7 separate regions of the Homo sapiens genome follow, and all the other regions are linked to region 1. Evidence: promoter capture Hi-C in 16 types of primary human blood cells and fetal thymus (Javierre and others, 2016). All regions are on one chromosome and are shown on one strand. The core of a region is centred on a gene start or on the middle of the fragment in contact, and the rest is flanking DNA. Distances in the headings are between cores, read along the strand shown. Region 1 overlaps EPS8L1 (EPS8 signaling adaptor L1). Region 2 holds the start of ZNF580 (zinc finger protein 580). Region 3 holds the start of ZNF784 (zinc finger protein 784). Region 4 holds the start of LENG9 (leukocyte receptor cluster member 9). Region 5 holds the start of LENG1 (leukocyte receptor cluster member 1). Region 6 holds the start of EPN1 (epsin 1). Region 7 holds the start of FIZ1 (FLT3 interacting zinc finger 1).

Region 1 (3,348 bases), core at 792-3,291:
ACACGTGGTTCAGGATGTCCTAGGGGACAGAGGAGGGGGACGCTCAGGGCTCCCGAGTTCCAAAACCATCCCCGTCGAAGCCCTGAACCTGAGCACCTATACACTTCCCCAGATCAGGCCACGCCCCAAACACCTGGCCACGCCCCACAACCAAGCCCCGCCCCCGACCCAGCCCCTCTTCCATAACGCAGAAGTCTGACCAGAGAACGCCCGTCCCGCAGCCGGCCCCGCCCTTCCACGCCCTAGCCCCGCCTCCAGTCGCCTGGCCCTGCCCCCAGACCCCTTCCTTAGCGGCTCACCACTTCCCGCTCCGCCTGCAGAACCGCCAGGTCAGGACCCCGGGGACCCAGGTCCGGGGAGGCCGAGTCAGCGTTGCTCGAGGTCCCCACCGGCTCAGGCCTCTGCGCCTCCTCTGCCTCGGGAATGGGCTTCGCCTGGGGTCGTCCGCGGCCCGCGCCCCGCTCTACGGTGCTGATCACTGCGCGGACTGACGGGCGGCGCTGCAGGGGCGGGGTCTCAGCGGCGGGCGAGCGGTCGCGCTGCAACTCCTCCTGCGTGGCCCTGCGGAGGGCGACGGGGACACCAAGACTGGGTCCACTGAGGGGTCCAGGGAGGGGGAAATCCAGGGCGCAGAACGAGACACACAGGCTCAAAAGGCTCAAAGGGAGTGAACAAGTTCAACGAGGTAGGGAGAAATCCGATATACGGAGGGATAGCACCTCTCTAGAGTGAAACTGAGGGCCTGGACAGGGAACAGAGAAAAGAAGCAGAGTTCTGGAGAAGGGGTCAGCTCGTCTGGGAGGTACAGACAAGACTCGACTAGGGTGTGCTTGACTCCATGCAAAACTCTTGTTCTGTTCCAGGCTGGTGTTGTAGACTGAGGCACAAGGAGGGGAAACCGGCTTCCCAGAGACCCTGCCAACTTCTTCCCTCTCACCTGAGCGCCGCCGCCCTGCGCTCCCCGCGGCCCGAGCGGTAATTGTGCAGAGCCCCCTGGATGTCCTCTCGGATCAGCTCCGCCTGCCAATCACACCGTCAGGCCACGCCTCCCCACGCCGCACCCACTTCCTACCCGGGCCTCGCCCCTGGCCGATTTTTCAGCTCAGTCCCAGCCCACGTGCGGCTACCGTTCACACCTGTGAACCCACGCACGTCCACGCCCCGAACTCACCCCTCGCCCTACACCTGTCCCTGCCCTAAGCCACGACCCCGCCCATGGAGACCCAGTCCGGGTGGTTCCTCGCCCCCACCTCGTCCTGGCTGCTCCCCCAGATCCTTCTTGGCCATGTTCTGTTCATGTCCTCATCCCACCTTCATGTTCTATCTTGACCCTGGGTCCAATCTCAAACCCCACTGCCTTCCAGAACTTCCTTCCCAGGTCCCCTGCCCTTCCTTGCTCTGATCCCGCCTTAGCCCCAGGCCCCGCCCCACCTAGAGGCCCCACCCATTTCCGCCCCGGCTCCAGGCTCCGCCCAGTTCCAGCTCCACCCCCAGAGCCAGCCCATCTGCTCACCCCGAGGCGCAGGCCCTGGAAGAAGTGCACGTCGGGCTGCGCGCGCTCGGGTTCCTGGCACACGAGCAGCAGCAACGAGCGGCTCCTGCCGGGTGGCATCACCGCGTCACAGCGCACGATGGCGCCCAGTGGGTACGACTCCAGCTCCTCCTGCCGGGTGGGATGGCGGGGTAAACTGAGGCCCCGAAATGATGGTACTACTAAATGGCGACGGGAGTGTGGGCCAGCAGGTCAGGGCAACCTCAGGCGGTTAGGGGGTTAGGGATAACAGCCCTGTTTAATAGATGAGGCTATTAAGGCTCAAGAAGGGGGCTGGGGTCCCTCGCCAGAGTTCCCAGAGGAAGGACGTGCAGGAGCCAAGATTCACACCCAGACCCCCTGAAGTCCCTGCCCCAGACACTCCTCCCACCCACGTGCCCCCCGGCACCTTGGAGGCCGGGTCGAGCAGCGTGACATGGTCGGGAGACACTCGCAGCAGCATCTCCTGTGCCCAGACTCGGCCCTGGCTATCCATGACGGCCAACTTCCTGGAGGCATCCTCCACGGTATGCACGCCATCGTCCTCACCCAGGCAGAACGTCACCAGGTGCTGGTACGGACCATGGAGAAAGCAGTGAGGCCCAAGATGATGCCAGGTGGGCTCAGAATCCCCCAGAATAATCAGACTTTCAGCCTGAGACTAACCACACCTCCTCCAGGAAGCCTTCCTTGATCACCTGTTCCACAAATCAGCTCCTCCTCCCAGTGCCCTTTGTTTCCCTTTCATCAGAGTGACTAGCACCTGAGTCTGGCTTCTCACAGACTGGAGGCTCCTTGCGGGCAGGGAAGGAGTCTGGATTATAGCTCTCTCCTTCTAAATGCCTCCTCGGGTCTCCTGCCATGCCCCCTGCCACCTCCATTAGAGCACCAGGCGCCTCTGTGGATTCCTCTGGACCTTGTCTACCCCTTCCTCATGCAGGGCTGTGTCTTGATTTGCCTCCGTGGTCCCACTGTCCAGCACAACAGCTGGCCTGGAGGAAAGGCTGGCAGATTAAGTGGACCCGAGGCCCCTGGCTTCATATCCATGACTGAGGTGAGGCAACGGAGGTCCATTTTATGGATGGGCAAACTGACTTTCCACATGCTTCCTGCTTGGGGGCCTAGCTGCTTTCAAAAGCCCTATCTCCTGAGGCCACCTTTGCCCCAGAAGATGTCCTGGGGGAACACAGACCCCAGACTCACATTGACTGGGTACTGGGATACATCAGCCATAACAACTGTGGAGTAACGCTTCCTCTGCTCTGCCAGGGGAGAAAGAGAATGAGCCTGGGAGTCCAGGCCCAGCCCCTCCTCCATCAGACCCAGGAGTCCAGGCCCCCAGCCCCTCCTCCCTCAAACCTAGGAGTCCAGCCCCCCAGCCCCTCTTCCCTCTGACCCAGGAGTCCAGGCCCCCAGCCCCTCCTCCCTCAAACCCAGGAGTCCAGGCCCCCAGCCCCTCTTCCCTCTGACCCAGGAGTCCAGCCCCCCAGCCCCTCCTCCCTCTGACCCAGGAGTCCAGACCCCCAGCCCCTCTTCCCTCTGACCCAGGAGTCCAGGCCCCCAGCCCCTCTTCCCTCTGACCCAGGAGTCCAGGCCCCCAGCCCCTCTTCCCTCTGACCCAGGAGTCCAGCCCCCCAGCCCCTCTTCCCTCTGACTCAGGAGTCCAGACCCCCAGCCCCTCTTCCCTCTGACCCAGGAGTCCAGCCCCCCAGCCCCTCTTCCCTCTGACCCAGGAGTCCAGCCCCCCAGCCCCTCTTCCCTCTGACCCAGGAGTCCAGCCCCCCAGCCCCTCTTCCCTCTGACCCAGGAGTCCAGCC
Region 2 (3,302 bases), core at 131-2,630, 560 kb before region 1:
ACCTCCCTAGCAAAATAAAAACTGTGACTCCAGCCCGGCTCTCCCACGTTCCATCAAGCTGCCTCGGAGAGGGCCTCCAACTGAGCTCTGCAAAACCCCGCCACCACCTGCCACTCCTCCTGGGTCCACCTCTCACCACTCAGGTCAGGTCTGAGGACGTAGTCCCCCGACTTTTCTTCCCTTTTCTCCTCTCAACCCACCCCAGCAGACAATCAATCCCTAAATCTGTTTACCTCTTTACATCTTAGACCCCGGGCCTCCTGACCGCCGAGATTTCTCTAATCTGTGGTTTCTTCTTTTTTCCTGTTGCCCAGCCCCAGTTCAGTTTACTTCCCCTCCCTTTGCCGCCCCCTACCCCCCCACCGGCCCCCGTATCGGCCTCCTGGCCCTCCGTCCCCACTACATGCCGCAGGGCCTCCCCATCTTCATATTCCGTGGCCTCCCTCACTTCCTCTCTAGGTACCTCCCCAGAGCCCCACTAACCCAATTCCCCACATTTCACTAGGGCTTTTCCATCCTGTTCCTACACTTAGCACCTCGAAGTCTAGTCACCTCTCCCCACTACGGAACCCATCGTCTTACTACATCTATACACCCCAAAATGGCTCAAATGCCTTCCTTCTGTATACCCCGCCCCCCCAACCTGGCTACCTGCTACATTCTCCCCAAAGGCCCCCTTTTCTCTCGCCCCCCATATATGGCGGTGACATCGTTACTTCTTTCTGTACCCATCAGGGGCCTTCTCCCAAACCCCGTTATGCACACCAGGCTCCGGGACTCCGCTTCCCACAGCACCTCTCCCAAGCCCACTTTCCCCTCCTTTCTGTGTACGTCTGGCATCTCTCTTTCTCCTCGTGTTCACCTCTTCCAGGAGCCCCATCCCTCTCCCTGTTACACACAGCGTGGTCCCCCGCCCGTTCTTTTGCTCTGCTCCCCTTGTTTATGGGAACCCCAGCGCCCGGGCGTTTTCGCCCCCATCCCGCTACACACCGCCTGTCCCCTGGCCCTGGGGCCCCTCCTATTGCCTTCACTTCCCCAAGGAGCCCTGGCGCCTCGACTTCCCCTCCCGTCCCTCCGCCCGATCCTGCCGCTCCCGACCCCCACCCCCATCCCGGGTGGCTCCAGCGCACTCCCCCAGCCTGCCTGGCCCCGGCGTCGTCCCAGGGCCAGGCTCCTCCCTCCATCCCGGCCCCCGTACCCCGTGCGGCGGCCTCTCGGGTCCGGAGGAACGGGCCGAGGTCCCGGGCGGCCCCGGGCTTCCCCTGGCGAGCGCCGGCGGCGGAACCGAGACTTCCGGGCAGCTCCGGGCCGGCGGCGCCGGGGACGCGGGGACTGGGGGCGCGGGGGTGCGAGGGGTTGGCGGAGTCCCTGGGAAAAGGCGCCGGCCGGAAGCGCGCGAGCCCAGTGCGGAGGTTCCGCCGCCTGGAGCCGGCGCTCCCACCCCTCGCCTCTGCGGAGCGCCCTGCGGGGAGGGGACCGGAGGCGTGGGGTCCACTGAAGACGCCCGCCCCCGGCGGCCCCGCTCCCCTCCCACCTCCCGAACGGAACGATTCCGCCGCTTGACAAGAGATCGGCCAATAAACCGAGACTAAGCAAAGTTACGTCTTCGCCCTAAGGCCCACAAGGGTTTGTCCTCTTTCCACTGGGCCGTCGCTGCCTGCTCGGCCGTGGCCACCCACCGAGGTAGAGGGCGGGAGAAGGGATGTTCCTGCCGGCTGAGCAAATGTGGAGACCGAGGTCCAGAGACCAGCCATTGGCTCCGATGTGGCCGGGCCGTGATTCTCCACCCAGCAAATGGGGAGGCCGAGGCCCGGAGAAGGCCAGACGCTGCCAGATAGTTGGGGAAGGTATGTTCTTTCCACGGGGCACATGCGGGAACCGAGGCCCACAGAGGGCCAGACGGCTGCATGCGCAGGTGGGGAGGTGTGATATTTCCAGAAGGCATGTGGCGACACCGAAGCGCAGCGAAGGCCAGGCTTTGCCAGATGCGGAGGTGGGAAAGGCTGGCACTGCCCACGGGGCCCACTGGAAGCCTGATGCGGGCTCGCGGGCTGCGCCAGGTCCTGGGGCACTTGAGGCCCGGGCGCTGGCTGCGCATGCGAAGGACTCCGGCGTCGAAAGCAACGCGCGGTGGCGCTGCAGCCGCACTGGAGAGCTGCACACGCGGCAGCACTCGGGGCAGCTGCAGCTCCTCCTCCAGCCACGTGGCGCCACGGCCTCGCAGGAGGGCGGCAGCAGCAGCATCTGCAGGTGCAGCTGAGAGTGGGGGACAGAAGAGGAGTAACTGTCACAGCGAGCCCCAAGACCCTGGGGTGCCACAGCTACATCCTAGAGCACTGTCCATCAGAACTTTCTGCAATGGTGGAAAGTTCTATGACAGTCACTAGCCACGTGGGACTCTTACACTCTTGAAATGTGGCTGGTGTATCAGAGGACCTGAATTTTAAATTGTATTACATTTCCCATAATCAGCACGGTGGCTCACACCTGTAACCCCAGCACTTTCGGAGGCCAAGGCGGGCGGATCACCTGAGGTCAGGAGTTCGAGACCAGCCTGGCCAACATGGTGAAACTCCTTCTCTACTAAAAGTACAAAAATTAGCCGGCCGTAGTGGTGCTCCCCTACAGTCCCAGCTACTTGGGAGGCTGAGGCAGGAGAATCGCTTGAACCCAGGAGGTGGAGGTTGCAGTGTGCCAAGATCGTGCCACTATACTGCAGCCTGGGCAACAGAGGGAGACTGTCTCAAAAAATACTAATTTCCCATAATCAAAATTTAAGCCACATATGGCTCCTACCTTATGGAACAATTCCAGAGACCACTGTCAACCAGTTGTAAACTGGAGGCCCAAGGGCCCAAAAGGCCTCACAGTTATATTTGGTTTGGGACACAAGGTACTTTTTAAACATTTTACTGGGCAGTATGTATATTTTTTGAGACAGAGTCTCACTCTGTCGCCCACGCTGGAGTGCAGTGGCATGCTTCTGGCTCACTGCAGCCTCACCCTCCCAGGCACAAGTGATCCTTCCACTTCAGTCTCCCAAACAGCTGGGACTACAGGCGTGGGCCACCACACATTTTGAGCCGGACCACTCTTTGTTGTGGGGGCCCATCCTGTGCACTGTAGAGTGTTGAGCAGCATCCTTGGCCTCCACCCACCAGATGGCAGTAGCACCCTCCCCCAACCCCAAGTTGTGACAACCCAAAATGTCTCTACACATTGCCCGTGTCCTCTAGGAGGCAACATGGCTCCTAGCTGAGAACCCCTGGTCTACTTAGACAATTATCCAACCTGAGTGTCTT
Region 3 (3,038 bases), core at 278-2,777, 540 kb before region 1:
AGACACAGTAGTAGATACAGTGCCTAGGGCCCATGATACTCTTAGGGACCCACAACATTTAAAAATTTATTTTAGGCCGGGCGCAGTGGCTCACACCTGTAATCCCAGCACTTTGGGAGGCCGAGGTGGGCGGATCACCTGAGGTCAGGAGTTCGAGACCAGCCTGGCCAACATGGTGAGACCCTGTATATACTAAAAATACAAAAATTAGCCGGGCATGGTGGCGGGCACCTGTAATCCCAGCTACTCAAGAGGCTGAGGCAGGAGAATCGCTTGAGCCCGGGAGGCAGAGGTTGCAGTGAGCCATGATCATGCCACTGCACTCCAGCCTGGGCGACAGAGTGAGACTCCATCTCAAAAAAAAAAAAATTATTTTAAAATCAAAAGAAAAGAAGGGAAATATAGCTTTGGAAGACCAAGGCAGAAGGATCGCTTAAGGCTAGGAGTTCAAGACCAGCCTGGGCAAGGCAAGACAGCAAGATCCCCATCTCTATAAAAGAAGAAGAAAGGAGGAGGAGGAGATAATTCAGCCTAAGTGGTGTTTATCTTTATTTTATACCAACATATCACAAAATATAATTTCATATATATTTATGAATGAAATGATCATGCTTAGGATCATGTTTAAGTATCTCCTATCCTGCCCTTTCAAGAAAACTATTTAAAGATGTTTCCAAACTCTTCCATGTCTCTTCTCAGTGGTTTGTCACAATGCTTCTACAGTGCTACACAAAAGAAAGAGAAATGGTCCAGAGAAGTGTAGTGACTTATCCAAGGTGATACCACCAGAATGACTAAACGGGGCAGCTAAGAAGAGCCCCGTCCTTGATGCTGCTGAAAACCCCGCGTTTTTGAGCTCTTTCCTCCCAAACATAACATCAGCTTGCGGGTTTTTGCGTCCTCCCAGGACCACCTGTGTTGCTGTTTACTGAATATTTTTCTCCACACTGCCTTTTTTTTTTTTTTTTTTGACAGAGTCTCTGTCACTCAGGCTGCATGCAGTGGCGAGATCATGGCTCACTGCAGCCTCGACCTCCCGGCCTCAAGCGATCCTCCCACCTCAGCCTCCCGAGTAGCTGAGAATACAGGCATGAGCCACCGCACCCGGCCTACACCGACGTTTATAAACTTGGCGTCATTACGTTGTCATGAGCAGTGCAGAGGTAATCACAAAAACGTTTACCGTGGAAACAAAGCAAAGCTTCTTCAGTTCTGCTGAGGTTCCCCTGACAGCCAGAGCCTCGAGTCGGCCTGCGTTGGTTTAGAAGGAACGTTCGGATTTGTTCCCAGGGTGTTACAGGCATCCTAGCGCCACACAGAGCGTACCCTCGGAGGGACAGACAGGTAATTAGAGAGGGAACAACTCACATTCTCCCGGGCTCAGCCGCCACGCCCCGCCCCGCCACGCCCCCTGCTGCACCACGCCCCCTCGCAGCCCCGCACTGCGCCTGCGCAGTAGCTCTTACGCCAGTTCGAGCCCCACCCCCTTTCAGAGCGAACATTGGCCTTGGGGGCGGGGCTTGGGCACAAGATGGCCGCTGCGCGCCCAGAGGCCCAGAGTCGGAGCTCACCGACTCCGGAGTCGCGATCCCAGGAGCCACTGGACCTGGTGCGGGCAAGGAAGGGGCCTGGGCGTGGGGCTCGAGGTGGGAGGAGGTCGTAGTGTGGGGGGCGGGTCCGGGGCGTGGCCTATGAGGGGGTGGGCGAGGGAGGTATTTAGTGCTATGGCCCTGGGGGTGGGGCTTCTTGTGGTTTCGCGAGGGGCGGGGCAGGGGAGGAGACTATGTCATGGTGGGCGGGGTGGGGGAGGGACCTATGGGTGGTGGGCGGGGCCTGGATGGGGGCGGAGTCTGAGGACGGTGTTGTCTTGTGGGACGGGTTTGGGTCCAGGGAAGGGGGCTTACCAGGGATAATTTGCATAATTTGGGTGGAGCCTTGTAAGGGGCGGGGCCTCATAAATTCTAGGGCTAATTCTAGGGTAGAAGGTTGGGAAGGTGACCCTGAAAAACGTGGGGGATTATGATTGGAGCACCTATGTCGGGGTAGGGGATAATTCTTCAAGGGTCTTAGTGATGCTTCTCGAATGCCCAAGGGAGAATTTGGGGGTAGAAGTGGGTGGTCTAGGTGACTTTGGAACTTCCTCCACGTTACCCCACTCAGAATTAGACTAATTGAGGACATTCATTCATTCAACAAACATTTACTGAGCTCCTACTTCGGCTCTGTAAATAGAGAAGTGACCAAGACAGACAAGGGTTGTGTTCTTTTGGAGCCTGCAGTCTCTTGAGAGGAGAGAGACAATAAAGGAGAGTTACTGTGATATGTTCTATAAAGGAAATAAAAATTGAGCCAATTTCTATAAATTGAGCCAAGAGTAGGGGTGGGGCAGCTAAATTTAGACGAGAGAAGTCAGCTGGGTGCCGGCTTATGTTTAAGCTGGGGTCAGAGAGATAAGTGGAGCTACATCGCCACAGATATTATAGTGACGATTTGGGATAAGTCATTTGGAGCCACTGGAGGGTTTTGAGTGCGAAAAATGACTTGATCTGATTTACATTTTCAAAAGACCTTCAGGCTATTCCTGGGAGGTGGGTTACAAGCCAGCAGAAATAGGAACAGAGATGCCCTTGGGTTTTTCAATTTTGGAGGCGCCAAGTGATGGGGCTTTAACTAGGGTGGAGGACAAAAGGTGGGATCCATGATATATTTTGGACAGGAGAGGAAATGTTGATGAGGATACAACAGAATCCTGGAGGATGGGCCGGGCGCGGCGGCTCACGCCTGCAATCCCAGCACTTTAGGAGGCAGAGCCAGAAGGATCTCTTGAGCCCAGTAGTTGGAGACCAGCCTGGGCAACATAGTGGGACTCCCTCTACATTAAAAATAATAATAATAATTTTTGTTTGTTTTGCTGTCTAAGATGGAGTCTTGTTCTGTCGCCTGAGCTGGAGGGCAGTGGCATGATCACATCTCACTGCAACCTCCACCTCCTGGGTTCAAGCGATTCTCGTGTCTTAGTCTCCCGAGTAGCTGGGATT
Region 4 (3,280 bases), core at 250-2,749, 620 kb after region 1:
TCCACCTGGATCTGGGGCCCTCCATGCTGGACGCGGTGCTGGGCGTCATGGACGCGGCGCGCCCGGAGGCGGCTGCCGCCAAGCCCGACGCGGAACCCCGCCCCGGGACGCAGCCCCCCCAGGCCCGCTGCCGCCCCAACGCGGACCTCGAGCTGAACGACGTCATCGGCCTCTAGGTTCCCTCATTCCCCGCGCCCTTCCCGCCCGGCACCCCACTTCTGTATACATAAACGGCCAAGGTGTGTGCCCGGGCTCTGACTTTTCACTTTGCACGTGGAAAGGGATGAATGATAGGGTCCTGGCGCCTCTGAGAGCCGGATGTGTCACCCGGAGGCCTGGTCCGGGTCCGATGATTGCCCTGGGGTGGGGGTGCGGCTCCTTTAAGAGAGCCCGAGGGCGTGGCCAGGCGGTGCCCCTTGCAGAGGCGGCGGCTCCCGCAGTCCCATTCGTCAAATACTGTGCGCCACCGCCGGCCGGACGTGGTCCTGGGGCCGGGCCAGACTCAGCCACCGCGGGGCCAGCCGAGGCGGGGCTGCAGAGTGCTGCAGCCCCAGGAGTCTTTCTGGCCCTGAACGCCTCAGGTGGACTCCGACCCGGCGGAGCCGCCGTTTACTCTGGGAGCGGCTGCAGAGGGAAGTGTCTGAGAACACTTTTAGAGCAGTAGGGGCCTGGTCTCCGTGGGGGAAGGGTCCGCAGGCATCTTGGTTCTTTAAGGCCCCCGAGGGATGGGGCCGAACATGCAAATGATTTGGACTGAGGGGCCAGGTTCTCGTAAGTTTCCCAGAGGGGCGGGGCCGCAAATGTAAATCACTTGGACTGAGGGCGGGTCCAGGTTCTTTAAAGACGTCCCCTCATGGGCGGGGCACACAGGTATCACCGGGAAAGGGGCGGGGCACCACATGTAAATCACCGGGAAAGGGATGGGACACAGGTAAATCACCCGGAAAGGGGCGGGGCACCACATGTAAATCACCTTAAAACGGACAGGGCACACATGTAAATCACTTGGGGAGAGGCACACACGTAAATCACCCGGAAAGAGGCAGCACAAAAGTATCACTGGGAAAGGGCCAGGGCACGCATGTAAATCACCCGGAACGGGGCGGGACACATGTAAATCACTTGAGAAGGGGAGAGGCACTCGTAAATCACCCGGAAAGGGGCGGGGCATTACATGTAAATTACCCTGAAAGGAGCGGGGAACATATGTAAATCACTTGGGAAGGGGAGAGGCACACATAAAAAAAAAAAAAAATCACCTAAAAGGGGTGGGGCACTCGTAAATCACCAGGAAAGGGGCGGGGCACCACATGTAAATCACCGGGAACGGGGCGGGGCACTACATGTAAATCACCTAAAGGTCGAGGCACACGTAATCATCCCGAAAGGGGCGGGGCATTACATGTAAATCACCCAGAAAGAGGCAGCACACATCAATCACCGGGAAAGGGGCGGGGCCAGGCTCCCAAGAGCTCCGGGAGACCGAGACTGCCGCAGCCTTTACGCAGCTTGCTTTCCTGGCGCTGGGGGAGGGCGCAGCCGGGAAGTCCCAGAGCAGCGGTGTCAGGCTCTCCACCAAGGAGGGACTGGGCCAGAGTCCTCGCGAGGGCACGCGGCGTGGTCCCCAGAGCTAGGCCGGAGCGCGGGCCGCTGACGCCACTGTCGGGTGAGGCTCGGTGCATCCAAGGGGAGCCGCCCTCCGTGCGGGGCGACCTCGTCTGCGCGGCGGGCGTGCCAGTTCCCCGCACCCATGGCAGCGGCCAGAGAGCCGGAGTTGCCGCAGGAAGCCCCCGCCACGGAACCCGCGCCCCCGCCGGCCTGCCGCTTCTTCCTGGAAGGCCGCTGCCGCTTCGGCGCCCGCTGCCGCCAGCCCCACCCTGGGGCGCCGGCGCCGCCTGGCCGCGAGGCGCAGCCGGAGGCCGGGGCCAAGAAGCCGCCGCTGCGCACAGCCGCGGACGTCATCCAGCGCATCCGCTGGGACCCGCGCCTCGACCCCGCCGACTTCTCGGTGGGCTACGTCGACCGCTTTCTGGGTGTGCGCGAGGAGCCCTTCAGCGCCTTTTGCTGGGACCAGCCGCTGGCGGCGCTCGGGCCGGGCGTGCTGGCAGTGCCCCAGCACCGCGTGCGCTTCTTCCGCTTCCGTGGCCGCCTTGTGTGGGACCGCGCCTCGCGCACCGACCTCGTCTTTGGCTCTGGCTCGGCGGCGGGACGCGGGCCCACCATCCTGGACGCACCGAACACCGAGGGCGCCCACGGGGCAGAGGGTGCCGAGTGGACACTGGCGGGGACAGGTCAGGAGGCCCAGGCTGCCCCCAAGCGAGGGAGCACAAGGCCGCTCTGCACAGGGCACCAGGAACCAGGCGTGGAGGAACCCGGAGAGCTGGAGGCGGCCCAGGAGAGGGCGCTGGGCACAGCTGCTGATTTGGGAACACTGGCCCCAAGAGGACGCCTCGCCGGAGTGACTGAGGCACTGAAGCCAACAGCAGCCACCAGGACCACATTGCTGGGGGGCAAGGAAGCACAGGCCCTGGGAGTCCCGGGGGGCTCCGCTGAGACGACAGAAGCCGAGTGGGGTCCTGCGGCCTGGCCCGAGGACAAAAGGGCCCGCCTTAGTGTTGCAGCCCCTTGCCAACCGCGCCCCACACATTTTGTGGCCCTCATGGTGACCGAGCCTGGGCTACAAGCAGAAGTGACCAAGGCCCAGGAATACCTGGTCCACGTGGCCCCACACTGCGCCAACTTCCTAGTGCCCTCTCAGAACCTACACCTGACCCTGGCCCTGCTGCGACTGGCAGGCGCTGGGGAGGAGGCCGCTGCCATTGGAGCTCTGAGACGGGCCCTCTTGGCCCCGGGGCTAAATGCACCCCCTCGGCTGAGCTTTAGAAAGCTGGTCCTCCTGGGCCCGCATGTGCTGTGTGCCCCACCCTCTCCCACACTGGAAAGCATGGCACAAGTGCTGAGCCAGAGGCTGGAAGCCGAGGGGCTGAGTACACTACAGTCTCCAGGGCAGCTGCACCCCCACCTCACCGTGGCCAAGGTGCCCCATGGTTCCCAGGTCCACCTCCCCAAGCTGGAGTTCACCCTCAGCCAGGAAGTGGGGTGCCAGCCCCTGCAGACACTCTGGCTGTGCCGTATAGGGAGGACAGGGGGGCCTTTCCAGCCCCTGGCTGAGATCCCCCTGGAGTGACACCCCCAGACCTCTGGAGGAGACAATGGATGCAAACAGCCCACACAGGAAAGACAAAGCAGGAGCGTGCACGCTCTCTCTTTCTCTCTTTAA
Region 5 (3,155 bases), core at 357-2,856, 920 kb after region 1:
AAAAAAAAAATGGAGGCACAGACTCTTGTGTTTCAGAGCCCTTTTCTCCGTGCCTTCCCCCACCAGCTTACCCTCTTCTCCACCTGCTCCCCGGCTGCCCGCACCTTCCGGGCCTCCGCGGCGAATTTCTTTTTCCCCTTGGTCCTTCTCCTGGGTCTGGCCATCTCCAGCGTTCCCCTGCTTTACAGCATCTTCCTGTAAGTGCGAGAGGCTCCCGCCTCTCTCCCTCCCTCTCTCCCCATTCAGTGTTCAGACTCCTGGCACTATGTGAGCCCAGCCTGTCTTGACTTCAGGATCCCGCCTTCTAAGCTGTGTGGTCCATTCCGGGGGCAGTCGTCCATCTGGGCCCAGATCCCTGAGTCTATTTCCAGCCTCCCTGAGACCACCCAGAATTTCCTCTTCTTCCTGGGGACCCAGGCTTTTGCTGTGCCCCTTCTGCTGATCTCCAGGTGAGACGGCCCAGACTTCTGGGTCTGGGTTTGAATGCGTGTGATCTGGGGGCCACCACCTGCGTCCAAGAGAGGAGAGGCTTGGGCGTGGGAGCAGGCAACGTACTGAGTCTGAGGGAGGAGGCCTAGGCTCCTGGACTGCTGGGTCCGAAGGAGGAGGTGGGCGGGACGTAGGACTCCTGGATCTGAAGGCGGAGGGGCTGGGAGACTGAACTCCTTGAGCCCAGACGAGGAGGGGCTTAGGCGTCCACATCCCTGGCTTCGAAGGAGCCAGACGTTTGGATATAATGGAAGAGCGTGTCAGGAGTGGCTTCCGTTCCTGTCTCCTTCAGCATCCTGATGGCGTACACTGTGGCTCTGGCTAACTCCTACGGACGCCTCATCTCTGAGCTCAAACGTCAGAGAGAGACGGTGAGCCAGGCGGGTCCCTGAGAGGGCCCCTGGGGAACATGGAAAGGGGTTGGGGAAGAGGATTGTCTCACCTCCACCTCTCTTTGCCCCAGGAGGCGCAGAATAAAGTCTTCCTGGCACGGCGCGCTGTGGCGCTGACCTCCACCAAACCGGCTCTTTGACCCCCGCAGCCCACGTCCCGCTTTCAGACCCCAGGCCCATTGTAAGCCTAGGTCACAACATCTGTAAACTAGGAGAACTGGAGAAGACTCCACGCCCTTCCAGCTTTGGTATCTGGAGATTTCCAGGGCCCCTCGCCGCCACGTCCCTGACTCTCGGGTGATCTTCCTTGTATCAATAAATACAGCCGAGGTTGCTGAGCGCGCTTTGAAATCTGCGTCCTGAAGGTGGGGGCAGGGCTACAGCGGGGCAGGAGCCAATCAAATGTACGGGCATGTTTGTCGGTGCAGAGCGCTCTTCCGCAAGGAGACTTGTCGGTCATGTCGGCCAATCGACGGCCGCATCTGGTAGCATCAGGGGCGGGCCAACTTATGATTGGTTCAGATCTGTGACAAGAGGCGGTTGCTAGGGGATACCACGAGCCGAACGCCTAGCATTCGCTGTGATAAAGGGCGTCTCAGCCAATCACCTGTCGCTACAGGCCAGGGGGCCGTACCAACTAATTCGGAACCAATCCGCGGTCGAAGTAGGGACAAGAAAAAGGGGGGCATCCTCTCGCCAATCGGAAGTGCAAAGAGGCGGGCGTGCCAGTCCCTGGACAGCTACGACGCCATGAATATCTTGCCCAAGAAGAGCTGGCACGTCCGGAACAAGGACAATGTCGCCCGCGTGCGGCGTGACGAGGCCCAGGCCCGGGAGGAGGAGAAGGAGCGTGAGCGGAGGGTGCTGCTGGCTCAGCAAGAGGTAAGCTCGGAAGCCGGCAGGGCGGCGCTCCGGGGCCCAGCGCGCAGGCGCCGCGGTTGGGGGCCGGAAGCGGAGGCGTTGCGCAGGCTCAATGTGCCCCGTGTGAAATTCGGGACCAGGCGCCGATCCCACTTTCGAGGACGTTGCCCCGCAAACCTTGTGCCCACTTCCACGAAACCTTCCTTGATCTCGCCCTCGTCTTAGTTTTTCCCCCACTGATGTATTTCACATGGCTGGAACAGTGTCTAGCACAAAAGAGAAGCTTAACATTTAATGAATCCGTGAACCCTTGGACAGTTCAAGGAAATTCGGATCACTTTTTAGTTTGCCTGCACAGCCTATTTATTGAGCATCTACTGTATGCTAACTACATGCCGTGCACCTGACTTGCGGAATCCCCAATAAGCACTGTTCGTTCTTAGAGGGGCACTGTCATCTCTGTTGCACGAAGTGAGATGGCTTCAGTGAGGGGAAGGCACATTTTAAGGAGAGGCGGACAGCCAGGCTCCACGCCATCGGGCGAGCCCTTTCGTGCACCGCCCCCTAGACACATACACACAAACACGGGCTTTCCGTATGGCTCTTTAAATCTGTTTGGTGTACACCCAACTTTCATTTCCTTAGCTAGTCTGATCCTCCGCCGTGGGTGGGAGGTAGTCTAGGTTTTTAGAATCTCAGTAGGCTGCTGAGCGCTGTTTGAAATCCGCGTCCTGAAGGCAGGGGACAGGGCTTCAGCAGACTTGGGGTAGTCACTTGGAGCCATGGCTAGAATTCAGATCGTCTGGCCTAATGCATACCTTTATGGCTGTTTTAATTGTCTCACTTGAGGTTAGGAACCCCTTTGGTTTAGGCCAGGGACCTCCTCCCATACATCCTTGATGACCCGTGGTTTACTATTTGAAAGGGAGTTTACAAAACCCAGGCGTTGCCTCATCTGCCTACCCTCACCCCCAGCTAGGACAGGTGCCTCTTTTAGGCGCCTAGTGCTCCCTTTCTCATAACCCCAGCACCCTGGACTGCCATTTTCTGTGGTGGGCACCAGACTCACAGTTCTTGAATTACCTCTAGGTTCTGAATGTCCTGCCTATAACTTTCTCCCCAGGCCCGTACAGAATTCCTACGGAAGAAAGCCAGACATCAGAACTCACTGCCTGAGCTTGAAGCAGCAGAGGCGGGAGCCCCAGGTTCTGGCCCTGTGGACCTGTTTCGGGAGCTGCTGGAGGAAGGGAAAGGAGTGATCAGAGGCAATAAAGAGTACAAGGAAGAAAAGCGACAGGAGAAAGTAAGCTGGCCTCACCCACTTCATCAGAGGGGCCATGAATCGAGTTGGAGGGAGGGGGCACTTTAGCCATTGGTTGTGACCAAGGTCAAACAAGAGTGAACACACAGAAT
Region 6 (3,283 bases), core at 452-2,951, 600 kb before region 1:
AGAAGACAGTTCTGACAGAAAGAGACACATAGAAACCTGGGCAGAGGGAGCTAGGCAGAGACACAATGAGAAAAACACAGGCAGCAGCAGATACAAGAACATGGGAAGACAGGGAGGCAGGAGGCCAAGGAAGAAAGAGGCCCAGAAACAAAAAGAGACCTGGCGCTGAGAAATAAGAGATAAGAAAAATGGAATCTAATGGCAAAGAATATAAAATGTGGGTTCAAATCCTGGCCACATCAGCTACCTGCAGCGCACACCTCCTTGAGACACAGTTTGCTCAACTCTGAAATGAAAGAATTCCTACCTGGTAGGCCTGTTGATTAAATAAGATGGGTACATGCAGTGCTTGGCTCTGTGCCCCACAGATAGTAGGCGCTCAATAACACTGGCTGCTATTATTATCAGAGAAAAAACAGAGAACATTTCCAAAAGGGTGGCGGCAGAAAAGGCACTATCTTAATACTCTGTACTTATTTGGCGTGCATTAGAAAAAATTACCCAACTAGCACATCAAAGCTGAGATTTCTCAGATACTGCTTAGAATGAGACTGTATTTCAAATTAAATTGATTCAAAGAGAATTCTTACATTAAAAAGAATACAAAGGATATGGCAAAGTTCTCCAAGGAGTACTCCAATAACCGACCGATATCTAACACTTACTGTGTAAAAATCTCTAAGCACTGTAATAATAAAAACCAGAGCTCCCAGTAATTACACACTTGCTATGTGTCAGATACCGTCAGGCACTTTACAAGCATCACCTCAACTTACATGCACAAGGACCCTATGATGTAGGAACTACGAATGCCTACGAACTATGGATTTCCTACGACTAGGAAACTGAGGTTTTGACACAGAGACTATCACCTGGCAATTACACAGCTTAGCAGGCAGCCGGGCTTCTGAATCCAAGGCTGGGGCTCTTCACCATCACACCAGAGACTCAGAAAACTGGGGAAAAGGGGCAGATTCTAGATCAAGTTAACAGACTCCTGGAAAGAAACTTCAGGATTGGAGGTGATAGGTATGGGGGCAAAACTCAGATGCGAAGACGGGGCGGGGGTAAGATTTGCACCATAGGCAGAAAAGCCCGCAGGGAAGGGCTAGAGACACCTAGGGAAAAGAAGACTCGGAAACTCAACGAGACACGAACAAATCCTGACAGACACAGACACGACAGACAGAGGAGAGAGAGACCCGGGACAGACACACAAACACACTCCTATCTCCAAACCCTTTTCTAAGTTCACTGAAACAGGCACAGGCAGAGGCCCACAGGAAACAGACGCTGACAGACACACAGACACGAGAGAGACAGACACAGACAACCGACACGGGGGCAGTCAAGGCCGACACAGGAGCAGAGACACAAAGGCCGCCAGAGACACCCAGAACTGGCCAGACGCGAGCCCGCGCGCGCCGCGGCCCAGGCCCGAACACCCGGAGCAGGCGGGCCAGCGTCCCCCGCGCTCCGCCCCGCGCTCACCTCGGCCCCCTCACGCCGGGCTCTGGGGGGTCATGGCGGTCAGCCCCCTGCCCCGCTCGGCCTCGGTGTCGCGGGACGTGCGCCGGGCCACGGGCGCACGCACGAACGCAAGGAGGGCCGCACGCCGACGGCTCCGCCGCCCCGCCGCCCAGAAGGGGCGCGGAGAGCCGGGCGGGGGAGGGGAGCCGCCGAGGAGACGGGAAGCAACAGAAGGAGGCGACGGACCGGAAGCGGAAATTGCCGCGCTCCCCGCCCTCCCGTGCCGCACCCCGCCCTGGCAGGAGTCGCTTCCGCAGCCAAGCCAACCTGGAAGGCATCACTTCCGGCGCGCTGGGCCCCGTTGCTAGGCGCCTCTACGTCACTTCCGCCCGCTGCAGCGGGGGATCCGCGCGGTGCTCACGGAACGCCGAGAGTCAGCTCCAGCTCGCTTGGCGGCAACCGCGGAGCTCCTGGCACACCCACGCCACGCCCGCCCCGGCCCGCTCGGCCACCATCCCTCCTGTCGGCGGGGTGGGAGAGCACTCGGGAACCTCACGTCCCCCGGGGCTGTGCCTGTGCCGACCCCGAGAAGGGCACCGCGCAAGCAGGGAAGGCCTCGAGGCTGCCGGCGCCGGCAGCAGGGGCGTCCCAGCCAGGGGCCCGCAGTTTGCCAAGGGAACCCCCACCCGAGCCCAGAACCGAGGAAGAGGGTCGGACATACTGGACACACAGCCGCTCCATAAAGTAAAATACAACAAAATGTTTAATGAGCAAATTCGTCTTAGCAAATATGAAACTGCCACAGAGAGTAGGAGAGGGGCAGGGGCCACGGGGCTGGGCGCAGGTCGGGGGAGACTAAAGAGGAAAAATCAACTACGTAAGAAACCCAGGAGGGGACCAGAGAGGACCAGAGGCCGAAGGAACAGAGCTGTGGTCCTGGTAAGGGAGAGGGCAGGGCACTGAGGGCCGGACAACAAAATTCAAAATAGTTTGGCCATAAAATATAAACACGCTATGTTCCTACCGTGGGGAAGGGGAGAAGAAAGGGGTCTATGGGAGAAGGAGAGGCTGTTTTGGGAGGGGCTGGGGTCCTACCCCGCCCTGCTGTGCACCCTGTCCCCATCCCAACCCCTTCCCTCTGTGTCTGTGTGGGTGCGTGTTGTCTGTGTGGGCTGTGTGCGCACTTCCCCAGTCCCCTCCCTGCCCTAACCCCCCAACCCCCCAACCCCCGCCCCCCACCCTTAATTGCTGCCATTCCAGTTGCTGCCGGCTGTCGTGTGTCTGCGGCTGTCACTCCTCTGCCCATCGTCTTCAGAGGGGGATAAGGGGGGGGCGGGAGTGGGGAGAAGCCCCCAGCCAGCCCTGCCCCCACCCTCCCCCAGCCGCCTCTACCAGAAGTCCCGGCGGTGATAAGAGTCGGGGTCACAGTATTTTGTGACAACCACTCTGTTGGCGAACTTGCGGCCCGTCAGGCCCTGCATGGCTTTCTGGCAGTCAAACACAGAGGTGAACTCCACAAAGATCTGTGGGGAAAGGAGAGGCAGGTTTGTGAACAAGGCTCACGCCCAACAGCCAGTCAGCGTCCACCCAACCCCAGCACTGAAGGCAGGAAGGGACAGGGAGGAGGGGGCTTCGCCACAGGTGTCAGAAAGGGACCCTTAGTAAGCAGGTTTGGTGGAGTTCACCCAAATATTCTCCAGGATCAAAAAACAAGAGCATAAACACACCATAGGCATGGAGAGGGAGAAAGAATAGAGACATGCCAGAAACTCAGCAGAGCCATAGAGCGCAGGCGGGAGGCCTAGACGAGCTC
Region 7 (3,333 bases), core at 44-2,543, 520 kb before region 1:
TAGACTGCTGTCCAGAGAGGAGCAACCACCTTTCCATACGGTTCGCTCCCACGGGGTAGCCTAGTCTAGGAGTCTGGTCTTTGGAACGGTGGAAAGGGGGAGACTGGTCCCCCGACCCTCCCCGTCCCCTCGCCCCGGTACTGACGCGCCCATCGGCCCCCGAGCTGCGAAGCCCAAGCGCGGGGCGGGCCCTGCGGGGGCGACGGCCAATGAGCGGCGCCGGGTAAGCGGGCGGCGGGGGCTGCCAGGAAGGGGGTCTGCGCGCGCGCGCCCGGACGGCTTCGCGGGGCGCGAGCGCGGGAGCAGGAACAGGTGTTGGAGGCGCGCTCCGGGAGCGCGCGGCCCGGCCTCCCCTACCCCCACACCCCCCCTCCCGCCTGCGCCCCCCGCCTCTCGGGTACCTCATTTGCATGTCGCCGGGGCTCGCGAGTGTGCGCGCGCGCGGGGGCAACGGGGCCGGCGCGTGGGAAGGGGAGGGGGTGAGGGGGCCCTGCCCCTCGGCGGCGGCGAGGCGGGGGCGGCGGCGCGCGGTGCCGGCCCCGCCCCTCGGAGAAGCGCCGGGCCCCTCCCTTCCTGCCCTTCCCGCCCGCCTGCGCGCCCGCGGGAAACAAAGGGGACTCGCTGGGTCCTAACGACCGGTCGCGGCCACGCCCGGAAGCCGCGCCTGCGCACCGGCGGCCCTGGTGTGTCCCCAGTGGGAAATAACCCAGCACCACATCCCCAACCACCTCGAAACGCCTTTCCTCTCACAAAGCCCACAGTCGGGTGACCCAAAGACAGATACCGAATGATGAGGAGCGGGAAAATGGCTGCCCAGTGCCCGTAATTAACATGGCACCGGACAGGCTTCGAAGCCCATGGAGTGCTAAGTGGATAAGATGGTGCCGGTCTTTTCCAGCTCTGTATTGCAGTTGGCGCACTTCGCTTTCTTTTTTTTTCCCTAGTCCAACTGTACATCCTAATCGGAGGAGTCCGAGGCTGTGAAAAAGAAATAGTATCTGCTCTCATTTACGTTAGCATCGCCTAGTGTCGCCACGGAGAAGCCCCCTCGCTCTCAGCTCCTTGCCCTTAGTCTGTATGGCGCCGTGGGTGTCCCTAAGCCCCGCCCCTTCCCGCTGCCCTCACCCAAGATGGCGCGGGCCTGGCTTCTTCAACCTCCAGGGCTGGGAAAGGAAAGGGAAAGAGGGAGAAGGGCGGGGATGAGGAAGGGGAGCCAAGAGGGCGGGAGAAAGGGGGAGTACGGCGGGGGAAGGGAGCTGAGGCGGAAGTCGAGGGGCCCCCCGGGTGGAAGTGACGCTGCCCCCGCTGCCCAAAATGTCGGCGCCCAGAGGGAGGTGTAAGTAATTAAAGAGGAAAGCCGACGGACTTCCCCGGCCTCCCGGGGCCGCCCCGGGTCTCCAGGACCAACGCTCCGTACGAGCGAGGTGGACTCGCCTGGCCCCGGGGCCTGCCCGACCTGCCCCCCAACCGGGCGCCCAGGGCTGCACCTTTTAGGGGCAGGGGGAGGGGCACAAAAGGCCGGCTCTCGGGGCCTGGGGCCTGGAGCAGACTGGGCAAGTGGGGGGGCCCGCTCCTCAGGCTGCGGGGTGGAGGAGGAGGCGGGGCCTAGTGGCTGCTGGGGCGGAGCAAGGGCTGGGAGGAGCCTGAGTTGGGCGGAGCTTAGAGTGGAAGTGGGAGGGGCGTGGAGGAGGGAGAGTCTGGATAGAAAATGGGAGGGTCTTAGGCAAAGAGGTGGGGTTTGATAAAGGGGCGTGGCTCAGAAGGAATGGTGGGTAGGCCCTGGATTGAGGGGTGGAAGGAAACTCATTGAGGCTGGTTGGGTAAAGGGAGCCCAGGAAGCAGGAGGGAGGAGTTTAGAGTAGAAGGGATGGAGTTTGTCTGGGGTGTGGCTTAGAGAAGTAGGTAGGCCTAGTGAGGGGGGTGGAGTTTAAGGGTGTAATTTGGAGGGGTTTAATGCAACTATCAGGTCTTTATAATGAATGTGGAAAGGACTTGCAGGGGATGGGAATAGACTTCGTAGAGAAGGCCTGAGAAGGTGACGGGAGTCCAGTGGAGAGTCTTAGAAAGGATGTGGCTTCTTTAAAGGAAAAATTGGGTGGAGTTTTGGAAGTGGGTCTTAGTGGACCCGAGAGGGGCTTAGATAAGTCAAATAACTTAGCAATCATGGTAGGACTTAAGGAGGAATCCAGGAGGAACTTACGGGATAATAGTCATCCAAACAGCTTACTTGTTGCGTCTTTGCTGTGCACCAGCTTAAGTGGGCACGTAGCATTTATTGCCACAATTTTACTTAATTCTCGCCACCACTCCATGAGGTAGGTACTACTATTCCCATTTTACAGATGAAGAATTTTTATTATCTGATGTTACAGGAGTAATTCTGGTCTCCCTGCAAGGATGACTCCAGTGTGCTTAGCCCCAAATCTTTGCCCTCCCATTCGCTAAGTGGTCATCCTGGAAGAGGAGTGGGAGGAGCTTAGAGGGGAGTGGGAGGGCCTTTTGGAAGGAAAAGGGCTTGGCAAAGAATACAAGATCCTTAGGGAACATTGTGGGGGACTTTGAAGGGAGTAGGTGGGACTTAAGGAAGAGTGGGAGAGGCTTAAATTACAGTGGGAGGGGCACAGAGAGCAGTGGCCGCGCATTGGCGAAGAGCGAGGAGAGGCTTAAAAACACTCCGTGGAGTGAGGAGACTATGAAGTGATTAGGAAGATTTTGCCACAGGCGTGGAGCCGCGAGAGAAGGGTTTCTAAGAGAGTAGGAGGATTTTAAAGAACAATGAGAGTGGCTTAGAGAGGTGGGCAGTGGGAGGGTCTCCCAGGGGACAGGTGGTGGGTCTGGGAACCTGGGAGGAGAGAGCTGATGGGGAGCCGACCCCCTCACCTGCTCCTCTGTCTCCCCACTACTCCAGAGAGAGCCCCCACATACCACTGTATTCCCCGCCACCATGGATGACGTCCCCGCCCCAACCCCTGCACCAGCACCGCCCGCCGCTGCCGCCCCCAGGGTCCCGTTTCACTGCAGTGAATGTGGCAAGAGCTTCCGCTACCGCTCAGACCTGCGGCGCCACTTTGCCCGGCACACAGCGCTCAAGCCCCACGCATGTCCGCGCTGCGGCAAGGGTTTCAAGCACAGCTTCAACCTAGCCAACCACCTGCGCTCGCACACCGGGGAGCGGCCCTACCGCTGCTCTGCCTGCCCCAAGGGGTTCCGCGACTCCACCGGCCTGCTGCACCACCAGGTGAGTCCCACAGGCCGGCCCTAGGCTGGCCTCCCTGGTCAGGACTACGGTGGGATCCCGCGCCCCACTGTACTCTGGGCAAAAGGAAGCTGGCC

What was found. Contacts are between HindIII fragments. The CHiCAGO score rates a contact against its expected background, and 5 or more counts as called.
Region 2: a contact is called between the fragment with the promoter of ZNF580 here and a fragment that was not itself captured in region 1, in 3 of 17 cell types (activated CD4 T cells, fetal thymus and naive CD4 T cells). The highest score is 7.0, in activated CD4 T cells.
Region 3: a contact is called between the fragment with the promoter of ZNF784 here and a fragment that was not itself captured in region 1, in 1 of 17 cell types (erythroblasts). The highest score is 6.6, in erythroblasts.
Region 4: the fragment with the promoter of LENG9 here is called in contact with a fragment that was not itself captured in region 1 in 1 of 17 cell types (endothelial precursors); the score reaches 5.3 in endothelial precursors.
Region 5: the fragment with the promoter of LENG1 here is called in contact with a fragment that was not itself captured in region 1 in 1 of 17 cell types (total CD4 T cells); the score reaches 6.3 in total CD4 T cells.
Region 6: the fragment with the promoter of EPN1 here is called in contact with a fragment that was not itself captured in region 1 in 1 of 17 cell types (total CD8 T cells); the score reaches 5.4 in total CD8 T cells.
Region 7: the fragment with the promoter of FIZ1 here is called in contact with a fragment that was not itself captured in region 1 in 9 of 17 cell types (fetal thymus, activated CD4 T cells, naive CD8 T cells and 6 more); the score reaches 10.8 in fetal thymus.

The regions. Positions count from the first base shown.
Region 1 is chr19:55,078,444-55,081,791 of GRCh38, reverse strand. It overlaps EPS8L1 (EPS8 signaling adaptor L1), which reads right to left. Exons shown (of 20, transcript NM_133180.3): 4 at 2,735-2,793; 5 at 1,941-2,102; 6 at 1,514-1,663; 7 at 938-1,020; 8 at 300-561; 9 at 1-19. Among named protein-coding and RNA genes, the nearest start is that of EPS8L1, 4.2 kb to the right of the region's middle. RefSeq lists an enhancer at 538-1,495. The HindIII fragment of the contact is 9,126 bases long and covers 1-3,348 here.
Region 2 is chr19:55,639,080-55,642,381 of GRCh38, reverse strand. It overlaps ZNF580 (zinc finger protein 580), which reads right to left and starts at 1,380. Exons shown (of 2, transcript NM_207115.2): 1 at 1,199-1,380. It overlaps LOC107983998 (a long non-coding RNA gene), which reads right to left. Exons shown (of 2, transcript NR_171683.1): 2 at 1,583-2,256. It also overlaps a transcript of ZNF581 not described here. RefSeq lists a silencer at 1,011-1,530. The HindIII fragment of the contact is 9,119 bases long and covers 1-3,302 here.
Region 3 is chr19:55,623,055-55,626,092 of GRCh38, reverse strand. ZNF784 (zinc finger protein 784) reads left to right here and starts at 1,527. Exons shown (of 2, transcript NM_203374.2): 1 at 1,527-1,609. The coding sequence starts at 1,532. RefSeq lists enhancers at 1,147-1,296, 1,047-1,546 and silencers at 1,367-1,426, 1,497-1,546. The HindIII fragment of the contact is 2,172 bases long and covers 1,204-3,038 here.
Region 4 is chr19:54,461,997-54,465,276 of GRCh38, reverse strand. LENG9 (leukocyte receptor cluster member 9) reads left to right here and starts at 1,499. Exons shown (of 1, transcript NM_001301782.2): 1 at 1,499-3,280. The coding sequence starts at 1,751. The coding sequence ends at 3,187. It overlaps CDC42EP5 (CDC42 effector protein 5), which reads left to right. Exons shown (of 3, transcript NM_145057.4): 3 at 1-251. The coding sequence ends at 176. LENG8 (leukocyte receptor cluster member 8) reads right to left here. Exons shown (of 16, transcript NM_052925.4): 16 at 3,261-3,280. The HindIII fragment of the contact is 35,995 bases long and covers 1-3,280 here.
Region 5 is chr19:54,158,172-54,161,326 of GRCh38, reverse strand. LENG1 (leukocyte receptor cluster member 1) reads left to right here and starts at 1,606. Exons shown (of 4, transcript NM_024316.3): 1 at 1,606-1,763; 2 at 2,866-3,045. The coding sequence starts at 1,632. TMC4 (transmembrane channel like 4) reads left to right here. Exons shown (of 15, transcript NM_144686.4): 12 at 67-197; 13 at 294-449; 14 at 782-860; 15 at 953-1,219. The coding sequence ends at 1,021. RefSeq lists an enhancer at 1,604-2,273. The HindIII fragment of the contact is 1,716 bases long and covers 312-2,027 here.
Region 6 is chr19:55,673,644-55,676,926 of GRCh38, reverse strand. It overlaps EPN1 (epsin 1), which reads right to left and starts at 1,701. Exons shown (of 11, transcript NM_001130072.2): 1 at 1,492-1,701. U2AF2 (U2 small nuclear RNA auxiliary factor 2) reads right to left here. Exons shown (of 12, transcript NM_007279.3): 12 at 2,211-2,993. The coding sequence ends at 2,859. RefSeq lists silencers at 1,420-1,749, 1,920-2,139. The HindIII fragment of the contact is 36,539 bases long and covers 1-3,283 here.
Region 7 is chr19:55,597,477-55,600,809 of GRCh38, reverse strand. FIZ1 (FLT3 interacting zinc finger 1) reads left to right here and starts at 1,293. Exons shown (of 3, transcript NM_032836.3): 1 at 1,293-1,336; 2 at 2,909-3,238. The coding sequence starts at 2,945. ZNF524 (zinc finger protein 524) reads right to left here and starts at 522. Exons shown (of 2, transcript NM_153219.4): 1 at 402-522. RefSeq lists silencers at 17-566, 1,277-1,696 and enhancers at 174-1,047, 1,048-1,922. The HindIII fragment of the contact is 10,107 bases long and covers 1-3,333 here.